Regions from separate parts of the Homo sapiens genome. Here regions 2, 3, 4, 5, 6 and 7 are each linked to region 1. Evidence: promoter capture Hi-C in 16 types of primary human blood cells and fetal thymus (Javierre and others, 2016). All regions are on one chromosome and are shown on one strand. The core of a region is centred on a gene start or on the middle of the fragment in contact, and the rest is flanking DNA. Distances in the headings are between cores, read along the strand shown. Region 1 holds the start of HIKESHI (heat shock protein nuclear import factor hikeshi). Region 2 has its middle 4.3 kb from the start of TMEM126A. Region 3 overlaps SYTL2 (synaptotagmin like 2). Region 4 overlaps LOC105369422 (a long non-coding RNA gene). Region 5 overlaps PRSS23-AS1 (PRSS23 antisense RNA 1). Region 6 has its middle 9.9 kb from the start of CREBZF. Region 7 overlaps SYTL2 (synaptotagmin like 2).

Evidence for each region. Contacts are between HindIII fragments. The CHiCAGO score rates a contact against its expected background, and 5 or more counts as called.
Region 2: a contact is called between a fragment that was not itself captured here and the fragment with the promoter of HIKESHI in region 1, in 15 of 17 cell types (non-activated CD4 T cells, naive CD4 T cells, naive CD8 T cells and 12 more). The highest score is 33.9, in non-activated CD4 T cells.
Region 3: a contact is called between a fragment that was not itself captured here and the fragment with the promoter of HIKESHI in region 1, in 3 of 17 cell types (activated CD4 T cells, naive CD8 T cells and non-activated CD4 T cells). The highest score is 6.6, in activated CD4 T cells.
Region 4: a contact is called between a fragment that was not itself captured here and the fragment with the promoter of HIKESHI in region 1, in 1 of 17 cell types (naive CD4 T cells). The highest score is 5.8, in naive CD4 T cells.
Region 5: a fragment that was not itself captured here is called in contact with the fragment with the promoter of HIKESHI in region 1 in 1 of 17 cell types (endothelial precursors); the score reaches 6.1 in endothelial precursors.
Region 6: a fragment that was not itself captured here is called in contact with the fragment with the promoter of HIKESHI in region 1 in 12 of 17 cell types (total CD4 T cells, activated CD4 T cells, naive CD8 T cells and 9 more); the score reaches 12.5 in total CD4 T cells.
Region 7: a contact is called between a fragment that was not itself captured here and the fragment with the promoter of HIKESHI in region 1, in 5 of 17 cell types (non-activated CD4 T cells, total CD4 T cells, naive CD4 T cells and 2 more). The highest score is 8.3, in non-activated CD4 T cells.

Annotation. Positions count from the first base shown.
Region 1 is chr11:86,300,920-86,303,619 of GRCh38, reverse strand. HIKESHI (heat shock protein nuclear import factor hikeshi) reads right to left here and starts at 1,380. Exons shown (of 5, transcript NM_016401.4): 1 at 1,142-1,380. The coding sequence starts at 1,171. The HindIII fragment of the contact is 4,753 bases long and covers 619-2,700 here.
Region 2 is chr11:85,642,285-85,644,999 of GRCh38, reverse strand. No RefSeq gene overlaps it. Among named protein-coding and RNA genes, the nearest start is that of TMEM126A, 4.3 kb to the left of the region's middle. The HindIII fragment of the contact is 8,633 bases long and covers 1-2,715 here.
Region 3 is chr11:85,719,926-85,722,679 of GRCh38, reverse strand. SYTL2 (synaptotagmin like 2) reads left to right here. Exons shown (of 20, transcript NM_206927.4): 9 at 1,721-1,822. Among named protein-coding and RNA genes, the nearest start is that of CCDC89, 35 kb to the right of the region's middle. The HindIII fragment of the contact is 782 bases long and covers 1,084-1,865 here.
Region 4 is chr11:87,033,663-87,036,370 of GRCh38, reverse strand. The region is part of intron 1 of LOC105369422 (a long non-coding RNA gene); the gene reads left to right. Among named protein-coding and RNA genes, the nearest start is that of TMEM135, 2.9 kb to the left of the region's middle. The HindIII fragment of the contact is 2,330 bases long and covers 211-2,540 here.
Region 5 is chr11:86,917,886-86,920,659 of GRCh38, reverse strand. All of the region lies in intron 2 of PRSS23-AS1 (PRSS23 antisense RNA 1), which reads left to right. It also overlaps a transcript of PRSS23 not described here. Among named protein-coding and RNA genes, the nearest start is that of PRSS23-AS1, 19 kb to the left of the region's middle. The HindIII fragment of the contact is 2,237 bases long and covers 192-2,428 here.
Region 6 is chr11:85,673,650-85,676,406 of GRCh38, reverse strand. It overlaps a transcript of CREBZF not described here. Among named protein-coding and RNA genes, the nearest start is that of CREBZF, 9.9 kb to the right of the region's middle. The HindIII fragment of the contact is 614 bases long and covers 1,177-1,790 here.
Region 7 is chr11:85,700,008-85,702,707 of GRCh38, reverse strand. It overlaps SYTL2 (synaptotagmin like 2), which reads left to right. Exons shown (of 20, transcript NM_206927.4): 17 at 2,115-2,193. Among named protein-coding and RNA genes, the nearest start is that of CCDC89, 15 kb to the right of the region's middle. The HindIII fragment of the contact is 3,118 bases long and covers 1-2,700 here.

The DNA.
Region 1 (2,700 bases), core at 131-2,630:
GTTGACAACGTGAGAGATACATGGATTCCAAATAGGCTTTTTATTCTTTAAGAAACACAATTTTAATGTCATTCATTAATAACACTCACTCGTCTGAGTCACACAATCATTCCAGGTTTGTCCTTTTTCCCTATTAAGAGCAGGGCAAAATTATCTCACCAGGATTATGAATTACCACCATCACCACAGGGGTCTCCCAGTCATTCAAGAGACAAACTTTATGAGGCTAGTCATCTCCAACTTATCTTTCTGGCTTCTTAGAACTGTATATGTACAGAATACAATACATTATCAAAACTTGATGGGAAAAAAAGACAATTCAGCAAAGGGACTGCAACATTTTAAAAAGCCAGGAGAAAAAAGAAGGAAAAATACTTCTAGGGGAAAGGAATCAGGCCTGAAAATTGATGTCTGTGTGGTTTCTAAGGAAACAAACAAGATTCACCTTCCAGATTATTCCTAAAGAATTCCAGGTGCTGTTCTCATTTACTCTAACAATTTGGCAAGGTAAGTTATCTATTTTGACCCATAAGGAAACACACTACTCGCATCCTTCTCTGGTTATCTCAGATACGGCTCACACGTTAAGTTTCAGCCAACTTCCAATTAAATTAAGCTTATTTTTACTCGGGTTCTTCCAAAGGGACCCAAAAGATATACATTCCCTGAGCACCTTAATCTTTGAAAAACAGTTTGCTATAGACCAAATTCAATCCCAAATTCACCTCTACCTCAAGTTAATAAAGAAGGTATTTATACTGGCGATTGAACTTAGTTCTGTAACTGCAAAATGTCAAAGATAAAGACCATCTCACGAGTTATGAGGATTAAGTTCAAAGTGCCAAATAAGCGCCACACATAAGGCTGAGTGACCAAAGGCGTGCATTGCACTTAGCCCAGTACTTGGTACAAAATGCACACTTAATAAATGCCAACTTATACTGTGACTACTATTCGAAAGAATCTGAATAGAGCTGGGCAAAGGAGAGCACCCAGCTTCCCACGCTCCATCCTCACATACCCACCCAAAATATAATAAGTGGGCTTCCCCGCATCCCTAGCGCCTGCGCACCCTCCCTGCCGTAGGGCTTCGCCCTCGGTATCCTGACCCCTTCCTGATATCACCCGGTCCCATCCTCACCAGCCTCCCCGCCACCAAGCAGCCAAACATGGCGACGGCAGCTCCGTTCAGCCGGCAGTGACCTGAAGCCGGCGACTAGGAGTCCTGGGGCTACTGCCCTAGTCGAGACTAAGAACCTTCCAGAATTTGCGGGAGGGTGTCTGCCCCTCCACTACATAGTGACTGGGCCAGCGGCAAGAATGCCTCTGCCCCCGCGAACTCTGACCTTCTCTTCCTAAGCAGCCCACTGCTCAGGCAACAAGTACTTCCGGGGCTTACACCCGGTTTTCCCCACTAAGGAAGAAAGGCGGGCCAGCGCCAGTACAAGACTACAAGTCCCAGAACAAGTCCCAGAGGGCACCGCGCCAGTTTCCGGGAAGGTAAGCCTGGAGGCTTTGCACACTGGGATCGGTAGTCCGGGTGTTTTATAGCCACAAAATCTGTGGATCCTTCATTTCCATGTACAATCCTGGGAAGAGATGCTTCTAACGTTTCTGTGACATCTGAGAGATTAACGGTGCACTTTTACAATAATCACGTCACTAGATCTTTACAAAAACCCTATGAGGTAAGTATTATAATCCAAATTTTATAGGAGTGATCAGCCTCAAATCTTTACACAGCAGTAAATGTTGGAGGCTGAATTCAAGTCCTAATCCAAATCCGGGTTTCTTTCTGCTACACAGTGTCTCAGAAGTATTAATCTTTAACCAATTGTTTTGTACTTGTCTACAATTTATAGTAGTTCTTTCCAGCTTCACTTAGTTCTCCCATTCATTTGCTGTACAATTGTGGACGAGTTGTAGATGTCTTTGTGCTTCAGTGCCCCTCCTTTGCAAAAGACAAATAATGAGCCTATTGCCTAGGGTTGCTGTGAGGATTAAATGAGCTAATATGTATAAAACACTTAAAACAGTGCTTGGCTGTGCTTAATTAGTGGGAGTTTTATTGTAAAAATGTCTATTTTTTTTCTATGTGGATCTGCAGAAAAGTTTCATAGGAAATACAAAACAATAGCCAAAAAAAAAAAAAAAAATACTGGCATTAAGTACCGATTGCCACCAATACTTATTCTCCCTTTCACAGCTCCAATTCCTTTTCTTCTTGAATAGGATAGTAAAGGGTCTCTGTCCAATTTGAAATATCTGAGCTTGGCCACCAGCCGTAAAGCAGGTCTGTCTTCCCAGTTCTCAGTTTATATATGGGGGATCAGTGTTTGGAACAGTCCTCTGGCCTCCACTGTGGATCCCTAAACTGATCACCTATCTTATCACCGATACTCCTTTGAGATAGCTGTGCCAAAGGTGAAGAGGTAGGAAAGGATCTACCAATGTTTCCAACTTACTATCTAAAAAGTCCTAGAACCTTCAGAATAAAAAGGCCATTCATATGAAGACCACTTCATAAATTAAGGCACCCACACTACCTGGGTTCAGAGCCCATCTCTGCCATTTATTAGTTACATAATCTCAGGCAAGTTAACCTAACACTCCCATACCTCCTTTTCCCCATCTTTAAAATGAAGTAATAGTAGTATCTACCTCATAAAGTTGTTTTGAGGGTTCTTACACGTAAAGTAC
Region 2 (2,715 bases), core at 180-2,679, 660 kb after region 1:
CTATAAACTCTGGACAAGGAAGAGATTCTTTTCAAAGACCCTGGAAAGCAACCAAAATAGCATGAAAACACAGGAAGGTATACAATTCTTGAAAGATGGGAAAAATAGTGGGTAAGATCCACATTTATCCAGCTTTTTTTCATGAGGGCATTAGTCTGTGCAGTACATGGGGAATATCGAGTGTCAGTATAAAGCAGCATTCTTCCCATTCTAAAACACTCAGAAGTTGAAATTTGGAAATGCCAGATCAACTGAAAATTGGGGCAGGAACCTTGAAAAGGGAACCCCAAAATCTGTCTAAAAAATCCCCTCAAATTTTTGGCTGACATTATAACAGTACATGCATGTGGTAAGACCCAAAGAACCCAATGGACAGCAACAGTTGGAAGACTGGAAGAGATAAAGTGAAATTTCAGCAGTCATCTGATGCTGGGAAGACAGTGTATTTTTGAATATTTAAATTCAAATATCGGAAATTTAAATATTTCCAAGTTATACAGACCGGGTGAAAACTTTGGACATTCCACTGAGCAGCATCTTAGAATTAATGACTACATCCAATGACTAAGGGTTATGCCCTAGAATCAAGGGCAAAATCAACCAAATCAATATTTTTTTAAAAAAATCAAATTAAGCAAAAAGGAAATCAAAGAGGAAGGAATAATAAAGGTAAGAGTGGAAATAAATGAAAGGGAAAAGACAAAAACAATAGAGAAAAGACCAACTGTGATTCTTTGAAAATATTAATAAAATCAATAAGCCCTAATAAGACTAATCAAAAGAAAAAGAGACCAAACAACTAAATCTTTTTGGACTGAAAGAAGGGACATTAATACAGATTCTACACACATTAACAGGATAAGGAGAGGATATTATGAACAACTTTAACCCACTGTGTTCGACAATTTAGACAAAATGGACAAATTGCTTGGTCTTATTGTTAATTGCTTATCTGGAGAGTTACAATTTATTTTTTCTTTTACATTTTATAACCTACAACCTTGCTAAATCAAATAGGATTTTAAAAATTACATAGATAATTTTATTTCTTCTTTTCCAATCTGGCTAGACTCTCCCATACAATGTTGGCTAGAAGCAATAAAGCAGACATTCTTGCATTTTCCCTGATCTTAGGGGGAAGTCATTCAGTTTCCCACCATCATCATGTTAATTATAGGTTTTTTGGTAAATGCTCTTCAAAATCTTAAGGAAGTTCCCTTCTTTTCCTCATGCTGGGAGTTTTTATCAGGAACAGATGTTGGATTTTGTCAAATGCTTTTTCTGTATCTATTCAGATGATTGTTTTTTTTCCTTGTTTAGTCTGTTGATACAGTGAATTATATTGTGTAGGGGCTCCACGTTCCCCAGCCATCTTTCCGTGTCCTGACCAAAAATCACAGAGCGCCTTGACTGCTTTGTGACCTGGCCAGCTGCAGATTTTTCTTAGCAGGCTTGAATCCAAACCGAGACCTGAAACATTTCCAGGCACTGATAAAGGTATCTAGGTTGTTGCCCAAAACACTAAAATAAACTGGCCCTGGCCCTGAGCCAAATTCCTAAGCCCTCATATAAACTCCATATCCTAATCCCCTTGTTGTGAACTGCTAGCCTTTTCTCTTGCTGTTTGTGGTGAGGATTGCTGCAGTTCAGTCATATAAAATTTCCCCTAATAAATGCTTTGGACTGATGACCCTGGTGTTTAGTGCTTCTTTCTTTGAATCCCAACCAGCCCAGTCTCAGGATAACTCTGGACACTCCCTTGTGGAAACTCCCCTGCTGTCACTTTTGGGGTGACTCCTGCTGTGGGTTTGGTGGAACAAAACATTGAGTGATTTTTTTAAATGTTAAGTCAATTTTGCAATCCTGGAATAAGCCCCGCTTGGCCATGAGGTACTATTCTTTATATATATTTTTGTATTTGGTTTGCTAAAAGTTTGTCAAAAGTTTTTATATCAATGTTCATGAGGAGTATTAGGCTGTAGTTTCTTTCCTCAAAATGTTTTTATCTGGCTTTGATATCAGGATATTGCTGGACTTATTGAATGAGTTGGCAAGTGTTCCCATCTCTTCAATTTTTTTGGAGAGTTTGCATCATATTATTATTTCTTCCTTACATGTTTGGTAGACTTTACCAGTGAAGATTTCTGGATCTGAGTTTTCCTTGTAGGGAGGATTTAACTATAAATTCAATACTCATGGTAGATATATGGCTACCCTGATTATCTATTTCTTTTTGAGTGAACTTCACAAATCTTCACAAAACAAGATCAAATATTCATTTATTCATTTCACCTAAGTTCTCAAGTTTATTGGCTGAAATTGTTCAAAAATATTTTCTTGTTATATTTTAACATCTGTAGAATCTGTGGTGAAACATCTCTCTTGATATTGGTCACTTATGTCTTCCCTTCTTTATGCTAATTGTTTATTATTTTTGAAAATCTCAAATAACCACCTTTTGGTTTTATTGGTTCTTTTCTATTGGTTTCTGTTTTCTATTTCTTCCCCCCTCTGTTCTATATTGTTTCTTTCTTATTCTTATCTAGGATTTAAGTTGCTCCTCTTTTTCTCGTTTCTTAAAAACATACCTGAGGTAATTGATTTGAGATCTTTTTCCCCTCTAACATATGTGCTTATCATTACAAATTTCCAAGTGCTGCTTTAACTGTATCCATAGATTTTTAAATGTTCTGTATTATTTTAATTCAGTTCAAA
Region 3 (2,754 bases), core at 225-2,724, 580 kb after region 1:
TGGCAAGAATAAAGCCAGCATGTTAAACTTGTTGAGGTAGGCTCTTACTAAACTGCCCATGAGTTGCTAGTGTAAACTGACCCACAGGAGAAGGAGCGCTTGCAAATTTGCAATTATGTTAGAGACTATCATCTAATGTGTATCCCAGCATAACTGACTGAATAGTAAAAAGCCTATCTAAAAAGGCAGCGTTAAATAATCACCTAGGCTGGGCACGGTGGCTCACGCCTGTAATCCCAGCACTTTGGGAGGCCAAGGCGGGCAGATCATGAGGTGAGGATATCGAGACCATCCTGGCTAACATGGTGAAACCCCATCTCTACTAAAAAATACAATAAAGTAGCCGGGCGTGGTGGTGGCTGTAGTCCCAGCTACTCGGGAGGCTGAGGCAGCAGAATGGTGTGAACCCTGAGGCGGAGCTTGCAGTGAGTCGAGATCACGCCACTGCACTCCAGCCTGGGCTACAGAGCAAGACTTCATCTCAAAAAAAAAAAAAAAAAAAAAAAAAATCACCTAAACAGAGCCCAGAGAAGACATTTTAGAATAACAAGCCAATTAAGAAGTATCAAATGGTATAGTCATGATTTTAATTTAGGTTTATATACTCTAACCTAAATTATTATTTTAAAGCAAACTGCAGTGGGGGTGGGGTGAAAAATGAAGAGAAACCTACTATAAGGGTACTGTAATTTTGGGGAGCAAGCTAACACATTTGACTTGCGGCTGAGCTCTTAACTAAGCAATACCTCAGTATGCTCCTTTGGGAAAAATTAAAGGTTCAGTAGTCAAATACTTTTGGAAATGCTGGGCCATTATGCACAGAGAAGGTCCGCAGTAAGGAACATTTTAAATTTGAACAGAGAACATCCAAATCTAATTCATCTTAGAATCCATTTGCTATGGAATGTACTAGGCAGAACTGGAATGTATTTCAGGAAATTATTGTCTAGAGAAGTGGTTCTTAAATTAATTGATTCCTTAATCGAATCACTCATTGATTCAGCAAATATTTTGAAGTGTTTATTTCCAGCCACTGTTCTAGGCACTGAGAATACAGCAGTAATAAATGTCAGTACTTAAGCTTATTCATGATGCAGCCATTCCTTTTATAAAATAACGGCATTAGTAAATGATAGAGGCCTCCCTCCCGCAACTTTAAAATGCCTTACTAAAATAAAAATTTGACTATCCCATGTTATTTCCCAACATTTCATTGGAAATTATACTAGATCATGAAACCCAGAAAGTCTACAACCTTTGATCTGGAGAATGCACTCATATGTGTACCCAATTATACACAGATGTTAAACATCTGAATCCTGCCTTCCACGGTTTTGAATTAATTTTATTAATGCTCCTAGAAGTATTTCATGGCTGTCTTCAAAAGCTAGAATGTTAAATGGGAAGAGTCAATGTCTGGCATAGGACAAATCATATGTCTAAAATAGGAGTAAACAACTAAGAGATCACATTTCTATTAATGTGGTAATCTTGTTTTTGTAGGGTTTACGTTTGCAAATATTTCTTGACCAGGAAAATTATGTTTAAGAGCATATTAATAGTGGAGAAATTTTATTTTCTTCTGTGAAATAAGTGCTTCTTAAAGTAGAAACTCATAGCATAATGTCTCTTTTCAGCCTACCATTTCTATGTCCATATGTTAGAGGATTTTTTTTTTTTTTGGTATTGTGCAGTGTTCATCGATTTTGTTTTATAACAGGTTCAGAAGAAGAACCCAGTCCTGTTTTGAAAACTTTGGAAAGGAGTGCCGCTAGGAAAATGCCTTCCAAAAGTCTAGAAGACATTTCATCAGATTCATCAAGTGAGAATAAAGTTCGCCTCACTGTTCATGCCCCATCTAAGCTTAAAAATGCCTATGTGCTCTCCTGTAGCCTCACTGCGTGCTGTTGTGCACTGCACCCTCTAATGGGGGCAGTTAACAGATGAAAATAACCTCTCCAAAGTGCGCTGAAGAGGCTCAACCTAAAGTGGCTGGAACTTTGCTTATAAAATAATATATTACATTTGGTTACTAAAACACTAGGTTTCCTTTAATTGAAGAATCCCAGTTTGAGTGTTTCTCAAGTACAGTGAGTTTCAAAGGATAGTGGTAGCTAGTAGTATTAGTGAAAATAGTCATAACTAGCATTTATTGAATATTATTTGCCAAAACGTGCCTAACAATTTTACATGTATTATCTCATTTAACCAGCACAAGCAACCCTATGAGAGGTGAATTATTGTTATCCAAATTTAAAGATGAGGAAAATGAAGCTCAGAAATGTGAAATGACCTTTTTAGTATTACACGGAAGATCTGGGACTCAAAATTAACAGGCTATTATCAAGAACATTTATGAAGGGACCACATTATATATGACAGCGTTGGATGTCCAGTGAATTTTGCATGATACGGAGTTGAATTAGTCCCTGGCTTCAAGGACTTTCCTTTCTCTTTTATCCCTTCTATTCTGTTCACACTTTTCTTCTAGATACTGGAACTATAAGCCCAAAACTACTTAACATGAAAGACTTTAGGTACACGATTCCCCACTGGCAGCTGCTTTAATGGTGAAGGATTTCTTGAGTACTAGCAGAAAACATAATATATAAAGAGAGTTGTGTGCTAGACAAATGGACTAAGAAACCATGATTTCTTGGGGTTTTGTTCTTGCTATTTTCAAGCTAAAATGCACCCCTGGGATTGCAGATGGTCATAAGAAAAATTATCAAGTGAAAAGTTAACCACTGCCAA
Region 4 (2,708 bases), core at 126-2,625, 730 kb before region 1:
AATCGCTTGAACTCAGGAGGCAGAGGTTGCAGTGGGCCAAGATCACACCACTGTTGCCTTGGCAACAGAGAGAGACTCTATCTCAAAAAAAAAAAAAAAAAAAAAACGGGGGGGCGGGGGCGGGGAGAAAAGGGCATACTTCCTGTTTTTAAAAAAACTTCCCAGAAGATCCATACAAACTACTACAACTTACGTTCCTTGGACAAAGCTTAATCACATGGCCACACTTCATTGCAAGAGAGGATGGTGAATACAATCTTTTTTAATTAATGGGACAAATGCCCAGCTAACATTTGAGGTTTTATTACTGAGCAAAATGGAAAAAACAGATATTAGAGGCAACTAGCAGTGTCTGCCATAGTTCTATGTCTCTGGCTACCCAAATATCCGGGCACACCATTCTTTCTACAGATAGACATACCTTCCCTTTTCCAAGGGAGACAACCTAAAATTCCATGCAGTTGCTGAATCCTAGCCAAAGTCCAGAATATTCCTCAGGACCAGATGCAGATCTCATGATAAAGTTATCATCCGCCTCAACACATCCAATATACAATGGTAGAATAGGAACAAGATAATCACAATTTTTTTCAAATCTCCAATTCAGAAACTAAGAAGATCAAAAACACAGCATAAACTTATCCAAAAAATTACAGAAATAGCAGTGCAGGCTTATTTTTTTTCAATAATCCATTCCTGAATATCTGTGATCCTTTCACAAGAAAATGCTGAATAGGAACTTAGTTTTAAATGGGAAAAAATAAAATGCATTACATATCAACCAAAAAATTCTTAACAAGTATTTAAAACATAGTATCAAATATTAACAAAAAATGATCATGTTAAGATGTACAATACTATACAAATAACATCTTATTCACCAAACAATTAATACGAGCTGGGCACGGTGGCTGATACCTATAATCCCAACACTTTGGGAGGCTGAGCTTGGTGGATCACCTGAGGTCATAAGTTCAAGACCAGCCTGGCCTATGGTGAAACTCCATCTCTACTAAAAATACAAAAAGTAGCCAGACATGGTGGTGGACACCTGTAATCCCAGCTACTCAGGAGGCTGAGGCAGGAGAATCACTTGAACCTGGGAGGCGGAGGTTGCAGTGAGCCGAGATGGTGCCACTACACTCCAGCCTGGGCAACAGAACAAGACTCCGTCTCAAAAAAAAAAAAATTTTTAATATGATTGTTAACTCTCAGTTGCTTCTGAATGTAATAGCACAATATAGTTTTCATGCCTGATAATAAACAATATGTTTACTATGTGGCCCAGCAATTACACATTAATAAATAAGGAAATTTTAAAATTACAATTAAAACCAGGTGGTTTCTTTTAGTTAACTGTTTTTTGTTTGTTTTGAGACATGGTCTCACTCTGCTACCCAGGCTGAAGTGCAGTGGCGCAATCACAGCTCACAGCAGCCTATATCCCCTGGGCTCAGGAGATCCTCCTGCCTCAGCCTCCTGAGTAGCTGGGACCACAGGTACGCCACCACACCTGGCTAATGTTTTTAAATTATTTGTAGGGTCTCCCTGTGTTACCCAGACTGCTCTTGAACTCCTGGGCTCAAGCTGTCCACCCACCTCAGCCTCCCAAACTGCTGGGATTACAGGTGTGCACCAACACACCTGGTCCTAATTAACTGTTAAATGGAGACTTGAAGCATAAAGAAATTTGAGAAAAAGGGGATGGTGCCAAAGGGGACAATGCTGATGAGCTGGGTGGCAAAGGGGTGATTTCAGGGAAACTCCCAAGTTCAAAAGAAAGGATACTCTATCTTTTCTAGTGCTGCTATGGAGATTCCAAAACAGGAAGGCATTGATAAATCCTCAGGGGAGATGATCTGTGCTTTAGGATGCAAAAAAAATTGCAAAATGGAGCAGTATGCAGTTAAACCAGTAGCTTACATTTGTAAATTTCTTTATATGGTATTATAAGATATAGCAGGCTGTTTTTTAAAAGAAAGCCTTCTCTTCATGCCACCATTAAGTTTAAAGATAATGTTAAACATTGCATCTGCATGGGTCATTTATTCTTTTAGGTTGGCTATGACAGTGGCTTGATTGGATACTTTCTGGGGGCTTCATTGTTTCTTCTTTTTCATTAAAAAAACGCAGGGAGGGCTTTAGGGTTCATCAACAAGGTGAAGCAAAGAGTTTCTCCAAAGAAGGTGCACAGTGGATGAAGAAAACTAATCTGGCAATTTATGATGGAATTCAAAGGCTTTGAAGAAACGCCAAGATGAAAATTGTTGCCCCTTTCTTTGTGATGGAAGAATGAAAAAAAAAAAAAAAACACAAAGTTGTTGCTCTTGTAGGATTCTAGTTTTGAAGATGTCAACGAAAAAGAATGGAAGAGCTCTTAAGATCTAATGCAGAGGATTTAACGACACTAATCTAGTTTAGATCTACATGCAGTCATTGTAGAAATAATTATCAGGCACAAGTACAATGGCAAAGTACGGCAAACTCGAAGTATGACACTGTAGTAGCTCTTGATTCCAGCAACAGTCAGTAACCAAGCTTTTCACAAAGCTACATATGATTCTGATTTTCTTTTCTTTTCTTTTCTTTTGAGACGGAGTCTTGCTGTGTCACCCAAGCTGGAGTGCAATGGGACGATCTCGGCTCACTGCAAACTCCGCCTCCTGGGCTCAAGTGATTCTTCTGCCTCACTAGCTGAGATTAGTGGC
Region 5 (2,774 bases), core at 61-2,560, 620 kb before region 1:
AGATAGATCATGTTTATGTACCTATTCCCACTCTGTTCTCTCTTCCTGAAGAGTCTCCTCTGGCAAACTCCATTCTGTAAACGTCCGTATTTAAGTGTCCTGTTCTCTGTCAAACATTCTTCCCAGGCCTAGTATGATGTTTGTCCCCAGGCTTCCATGCCATTATGTGTACACATTATCTGCCATAAGCTTACCTTATTGCATGGCAATGGAAGTTTTTCCTCCTTCTCTCTTCTTCATTAGACAAGAACAGGGTCTTGAAAAGTAGAGACTGTGTCTTCTCAAGTTCGGACTACTGGCACAGGTAGGTGCTCAGAACTTGGCACCAGGAAGATGCTTATTAAATATTTGAAGAACAAATAAGTAAATGAATGAATAGACTAACTGAGTTTGAAGGCAGTGCTATGGCAGATTTTTCTTATTTTATGAATGGAAAAACTATGGCATAGAACAATTTGGAATCTGATAATTTTACAAATTCGTAGGAGTGCTGGAAAACAGTAAAATCTTCAGTCTTGCTCCTTGAGCTGTTGCCCAGGTCCCTCTCTGGGACTGCACTAGCAGCCCTAAAAAACACCTGGGGCTGATACCCTCACATTCACACCAAACCGCAGACCTCACCACAGAAGCACAGGCCTTCACGCTGGCGTCTGCAGTCTACTTGTAGTTTGATTTTAGCAACATTGGCCAAGTTGAGGCTGGGAAGCAGCTGGTGAACAAAGGGTGGATGCACTTTTCTGAATCTAGGGGGAGACCAGGTTAGAGCCATGCTAAGTGAAGCTGCTAGGGTAGGTGGGCCAGGCAGGGGAACAGGCAAAGATACCCTTGGCTCCCTTAAACTTGGGCTAGAAAAAACAAAGACATGGCTCAAGGAGAACCACAAGGTGTCACTGTTCATCCTCAGTTAAACAAACACTGATTTGGGCAGGGACTTGAGAAACACTGCAAAGAACTTTATTTTGCAGATGAAGAAACGGAGGCCCGGGGAGGTAACATGATTTGACTAAGATCACGTAACAACTTAATGGCAGAACAATTATGAGAAACCAAGTCTCTTAACTTTCAGACTGGCAGGACCACTTTCTCCCATTGCTCCTATGAGATGGCATTTTGAGATGAGGAGTAAGCCTTCTCTACAATCATTCACTCAAGACAATGGCTTTCAATTAGAAATAGAACAGAAAAAAAACAAGAGAGAGAGAAGAAAAGAATGAAAAAAGCGCAGCATTCACTCTCACATGTGCCTTATTCAAAGTGCTGGGCTAAGATGCCAGTGCCCACAACGAGAGAGTGGCCCACAGGGCCTCCGTCTGTGGCAGGCTTGAATACCCGAATAGAAAAGTATCAGGTAAAGGATTTCATTCTTTTTATGGCTCCAACTTAAAAAGAGTCTGGTTCCCAAGGAAAACAGGAAGCCAAGTTGCTCAGCAAAGAATTGGCTGAAACCTAAGTAGGACCCAGATAAAAACATTTGCTGGATGGAAGGATGTGGGCAAATTTCTGGGCCCCGCTGCTTGGGGATGGGAAGCTATGAGGCAGAAGACCCTTTGTGAAACAGTGACCCGTGCACCAGGCATTTTTGCGGATGTCTGGAAACTGCGAGGCAGTGGAGGAGTCATAAGTTAGTTGGTTTTTTAATTCCAACTAACTTTACTCCACCAAGTATCTCAGGAGATTTCGCCTATGCTCTTTGGCCTGACTCCCACTAGGCCCTTACTCCTTCCATGGTGGCTTCTACTGGAGCCTCTTTCTTAGTTCCCAGGTTATTAAAATAATAATAAATTCAAAGAGCTTTGTTGTTTTCTTAGGTAATATAATTAATATGCGCTCATTACAAAAATTCAGATACCAAGTAGCAGAATGAAGAAAATAAAAGACATCTGTAGTCTCTCCATTCAGAAATAACTGCTGTTAGCATAATGCTGTATACATTCAGGCTGTTGGCCTGTGGAACACCTGGTATATGTCCTCGGCCCTGGGTTTACAGCTGTAAAGCTGGCACACACTAATCTCAGCTCTCACAGAGCCTACATTCTAATTGTCTGGGAGAGACAGACAATAATATTTTGTAAAAAAGTAAAATATATAGGATGTCAGATTGTGGTAAATGCTATGAAGACAGAGAAGGGGATGGGGATTTTAATGGTGGTGAGGTGGCAATTTAAAAATAGGATATTCAGAAAGTGACATTTGAACAAAGATCTGAAGCAGATGTGGATATCTGGGAGAAGACTTCTTTCTTTCTTTCTGTACATAGACAATAATGCAATTATAACATAAACAATATATGAATACATCTTTGATTTAAAATCTTCAAATAATACAGAAATATATGGGAAACAAGGGAACAACCTTCTCACCACCCTCCTATTACCTTCTCCTCTCTCCCAATAAGCACTTTGGCAATGGTGTGTTCCCTGCCCAAGCTTCATCTCTGCATTTACATTCATTTCTGTATATACTGACACAATAGCTTTATTTTATTTCCTACGTAAATGAGCTCATCCTTTGTGAAGGTGATATCTTTTTATTTTCAGCAAAAAGAGTCGTCTTAACATTTTCTAAAATTCAAAGGTATGTGAGAGCTATAGGCCTCATTACTAAAAATGAAATAGCTAAATGTGATTGCTAAGTGTGGGTAAATGTTTTACTTCTTCCTTTGGGCTAATAATCTAGCATATACTGAATTCTATTGAAATAATTTGTTTCTGCCTCTGTCTCTGCTACTACACAGTGAATTTTTTGTGGCCAGGGAATTAGGTCTTCGCATCTAT
Region 6 (2,757 bases), core at 234-2,733, 630 kb after region 1:
TTGGGGTTCCTAAAGGAGGGAGCAGAAGGAATGATTTGGAATTGGCAATGAGAAGTAAGAGCACAACAGCCAAGTTCTGGCTCCGAGGTGCCCATTGCGGTGAGAGAGGAAACAACTTCCACTTGAGAAGTGGAGTCCTTGCTATCAGAATATGAAAAGCTTTCTTCCTACCCTTCCAAATCTTTCATGCTCAAACTTCTATGCCTGCTCCCTTTCCTCCACTGAAGCAGCAATTCTCAACTTGAGTGGCAGCAACTGTGAGGTTTGATTAGTTAGGACATACACTAGTAATTTCTCACTATTTCAGTTGGTTACAAATGATGGTAATTTTAAAATAAAATATATTCCAGATTAGTCCACAATAGTATAATTCTCATTCAGTTGCGTTCAGAAACGCTTTCTTGAGAAGGAGTTAGAGGAGTGGAAATATAATACAGCTAGCACACTGGGAATTGCACATTTCATGCAAATATGTATGTAGTGCTTGTAAACATAATCCAACAGTGCCCTAGACACGGTCAATCACCTGATTTCTTCAATTTTCATCCAGTCCTAATGTCCCCTCATGGTCTCACTACCCCTTACAAATTATACTTCATGGGTAGACAGGCAAACTAAAGTAAAATGAGCACCCTCGTCTCTGTACCACAGGCATACCTTGTTTTATTGCATTTCACTTTCTTCTGCTTCACGTATATGGCATTTTTTACAAATCGAAGGTTTGTGGCAACCATAAGTTGAGCATGTCTATCAGCACCATTTTTCCAACAGCATGTGTTCACTTTGTGTCTCTGTGGTTTGTAACTCACACTATTTCAGGCTTTTTCATTATTAATATCTCTGTCATGGTGATCTGTGATCATTGATCTTTCATACTACTATTGTAATTGTTTGGGGGTGCTATGAACAGCACCCATATAAGATGGCAAACTTCACTGATGAATGTTGTGTGTGTTCTGAGTGCCACTGACTGGCCATTCCCCAGTCTCTCTCCCTCTCCTTGGGTCTGCTTATTCCTGAGACACAACAATATTGTAATTAGGCCAATTAATAATCCTACAATGGCCTCTAAGTGTTCAAGTGAAAGAGTTATACATCTCTCACTTTAAGTCAAAAGCTAGAAATGATTAAACTTAGTGAGGATGGTGTGTTGAAAGCAGAGACAGGCTGAAAGCTTGGTCTTTTGCACCAGTTAGCCAAGTCGTGAATGCAGAGGAAATATTTTTGAGAAAAAAAATTTGAAGGAAATTATAAAGGGCCACTTCTGTAAACACATGAATGATAGGAAAATAAAACATCCTTATTGCTGATATGGAGAAAGTTTTAGTGATCTGGATAGAAGATCAAACCAGCCACAACATTCCTTTAAGCCGAAGCCAAACCCAGAGCAAGGCCCTAGCTGTTTTCAATTCTATGAAGGCTGAAAGAGGTGAGGAAACTGCAGAAGAAAAGCTGGAAGCTAGCAGAAGCTAGCAGAGGTTGGTTCATGAGGTTTGGGTATTCTGAAGGAGAGAGGAGAAGAAATGATTTGGAATTAGCAATGAGAAGTAAAAGCACCACAGCCAAGTTAGAGAGAAAAACCCATCTCTGTAACAAAGAAGGGCAAGGTGAAGCAGCAAGTGCTGATGGAGAAGCAGCAACAAGTTTTCCAGAAGATCCAGCTGAGATAATTGATGAAGGTAGCTACACTAAACAACAGATTTTCACTGTGGACAAAAAGGCCTTTTATTGGAAGAAGATGCCCTCTAAGGCTTTAGTAGTTAGAGAAGTCAATGCCTGGCATCAAAGCTTTAAAGGACAGGCTGACTCTCTTATTAGGGGCTAATGGGCTAATGCAGCTGGTGACTTTTAAGTTGAAGCCAGTGCTCATATTTACCCTTCCAAAAATCCTAGGGCTTTCAAGAATTATGCTAAATCTACTCTAACTGTGATCTATAAGTGGAATGACAAAGCCTGAATGACAGCATATCTATCTACAGTGTGGTTTACTGAATATTTTAAGCCCACTGTTGAGAACTGCTGCTCAGAAAAAAAGATTCCTTTCCAAATGTTACTGCTCATTGACAATGCAGTTAGTTACTCAAGAGCTGTAATTAAGATTTACAAGGAGATTAAAGTTTTTATGCCTGCTTACACAACATCCATTCTGCAAGCCATGAATCAAGGAGTTACTTCAACTTTGAAATCTTATTGTTTCAGAAATACATTAAGGCAAAGCTGCCATACACAGTGATTCCTCTGATCTATCTAAGCAAAATAAATTGAAAACCTGGAAAGGATTCACCATTCTAGATGCCATTGAGAACGTTTGTTTGGAAGTTTGGAAGAGGATTCCATCCTTTATGGATGACTTAGAAGGATTCAAGACTTTAGTGGAGGAAATAACTGCAGATGTGATAGAAGTAAGAAGAGAACTAGGATTAAAGTTGGAGCTGGAAGATGTGACTGAATTACTGCAGTCTCATGATATCACTTGAATGGATGAGGAATTTCTTCTTATGGATAAGCCAAGAAAAATGGATGGTTTCTTGGGATGGAATCTATTTCTGGTGAAGATGCTGTGAACATTGTTTGAATGACAACAAAGGATTTAGAATATTACATAAACTCAGTTGATAAAGCAGCCGCAGGGTTGGAGAGAATTGACTCCAATTCTGAAAGAAGTTCTCCCATAGGCAAAATGGTATCAAACAACATCACGTGCTATAGAGAAATCTTTCATGAAAGGAAGTGTCAGTTGATGCTGCAAACTTTACT
Region 7 (2,700 bases), core at 31-2,530, 600 kb after region 1:
TTTTGCTTCTGATACAGCAGGCACAGACCACCTTCATTTAATCTGGGAATAAACTGACTTTGAAGCACAAGCCCAGTTTTCATGTGATCTGGTCTAGTTTTTGTTTGCTTATATTCCTAGGCTAAGGCCCTTCAGAGGTTCCAACTGAAAGCCATGGGAAATAGTTCTCAAAATCAGCATGCATCTGATTCACCTGAAGGACTTATTAAATCACAGATTCTGGGGCTGGGTGCGGTGGCTCTCAGCTTTAATCCCAGCACTTTGGGAGGCTGAGGTGTGGATTGCTTGAGTCCAGGAGTTGGATGGAGACAAGCCTGAGGAACGTGGCAAAACCCTGCCTTTGCAAAGAAATTAACCAGGCTTGGTGGCATGCACCTATAGCCCCAGCTACTCAAGAGGCTGAAATGGGAGGATCACTTGAACCCAGGAGGTGGTGGTTGCAATGAACTGAGATCACGCCATTGCACTCCAGTGTGGGCAACAAAGCGAGACCCTGTCTCAAAAAAAAAAAAAAAATAGACCCACTAGATTCTGAGCCCTATTCCCAAGGTTTACGGGCCCAAGAATATACATTTTTAACAGGTTCCCTGTCAATGCAGCTGACCTAGAAACGGTACTTTGAAAACCACTGGTCTAGAGTGTTTTTCCAGTGCCATTCCTTCTTGACAGGCCGTGGGCTCCAAGTTTTGTCTCCCCAGCCTCATGAAACTGCTAAAAGTCCTGCTTACCTTTTCAGTCTCATTCTGTTAGGCTTTTTATGTGCTCAGTTTGGCACTACTTAAATGTCTCAAAGTGAAAAGCAGAGAAGAATGTCAGACTCTAAGATCTTGTTCATTTGAGTCCTGTCTGTGTTAATAATTCTTTAGCACTTTCAAACTGATATTTAAAATCCCACCTTTTAAATTGTTATTAGTTTAGGGGTTGATGTGATCCAAGCTAGTCCATCATAGTAGGAAGTGATAAATATAAATAACTAATACAAACCATAACTTAGTGTCTACACAACAGTGGAACTGTTTTAGTTCCACTAAAGAAATGGTTCTCAAATGTTATATCAAAATCACTTGAAGCACTTATTTCTAGCCCTACCCAAGACCTGAACTCCTCAGAAGATATCAAAAGCATCTCATTTTTAACTGGCTACCATTACGTTTCTGATACATACCCATATTTTGAAAATAAAGCTCTAAAGAGCCAGAATTTGAAAGTAAAAAACTATCTTATGCAGGTTTCTTATACAGGTTTAGCATCCCTAATTCAAAAATTTCAAATCCATAATGCTCCAAAATCTGAAACTTTTTGAGTGCCGATATGATGCCGTAAGTGGAAAATTCCACACCTGCTTCATGTGATGGGTTGCATAAAGTTATTAAAAATGTTATATAAAATTACCTTCAGGCTATGTGTAGAAGATGTATATGAAACATAAATGAATTTTGTGTTTAGACTTGGGTCCCATCCCTAAGATATCTCATTACGTATATGCAAATATTACGAATTTCAAAAAACAAATCCGAAATCTGAAACTTTTCTGATCCCAAGCATTTCAGATAAGGAATATTCAACGTGTACTTGAAAATAACAGATAGAAGTTTAAAAAATTATTGTTCAGTCTTTGTTATACTTACAGACTTCTATGCATTTGGCCTAAAATAATCAGATTAGTGCAGCTTTGAAAATGTAAGATATGGCCTTTCCCCCCTTACTTTCACACACTATCTCATACTCCTTCAAATAAAGGGAATACAAATAAATTGTTTTATATGCTGGCTGAATAGCTAACAAAATATTTGTGTTTTGATCAAAATTAAAGCATTCAAAGAAACCTCTCCCATCTCCAAGAAAGCCATTCTGGTTTCTTCACCATCTTTGAGACTAAAGGCCTTGAAATATTTTCTGGGTATCCTGCAAGATTTTTCAAGATATACAACCTAGTTTTCCCAGGTATTAAGGCAACAGTCTAGTTCTGATGCAGAGAGAAATTTTAATCCAGAGCACTCATGAGTGACACATGGTCCCAGAAATGGGACAGATATGGTTCTGTAATGAGACCTATACCAACAAACAGGATGAAAAGTTTGTCTCCCACCTGCTGACATTTCTTCACTTTTCAGACAGCACCAGTTGCCCTTGAAGCAGAAAACAGAGGTGAAATGAAACTAGCTCTCCAGTATGTCCCAGAGCCAGTCCCTGGTATGTAATGACTTTCTATTCAGATTTATGTCCTTTCCTTATCCCTCCCTTCTCACAGTATTTACTATGCGTTTTCAAAGGTGAGGCCCTAAAGAAACTTATCAAGTTAGTAACGTATAGACCAAATGAGTCTATTCACAGTTGTAAATAAGAAAATTCTTTTTTTGTTATTGTGGCAAAAAAAAAAAAAAAAGAAAACATAAAATCTACCATCTTCACCATTTTTAACTGTACAGCTTAGTAGTGCTAAGTATATTCACACTGTTGGGAAACAGATCTCCAGAACCTTTTCATCTTGCAAATCTGAACCTGTTTATCTATTAACCAACAATTTCCTTTTCCTCTACTACCAGCTTCTGGTAATCATCATTTTACTTTCTGTTTCTATAAGAAAGTTCTCATTTTTTTTTTTAGTTTAGTTTATAGTCATTAGGTTTCACCTCACTCTCCAAAAATTTGTATCTGCACAATGTGAATGGCCTGTATTCAGAATTTGTGTATTCCTGT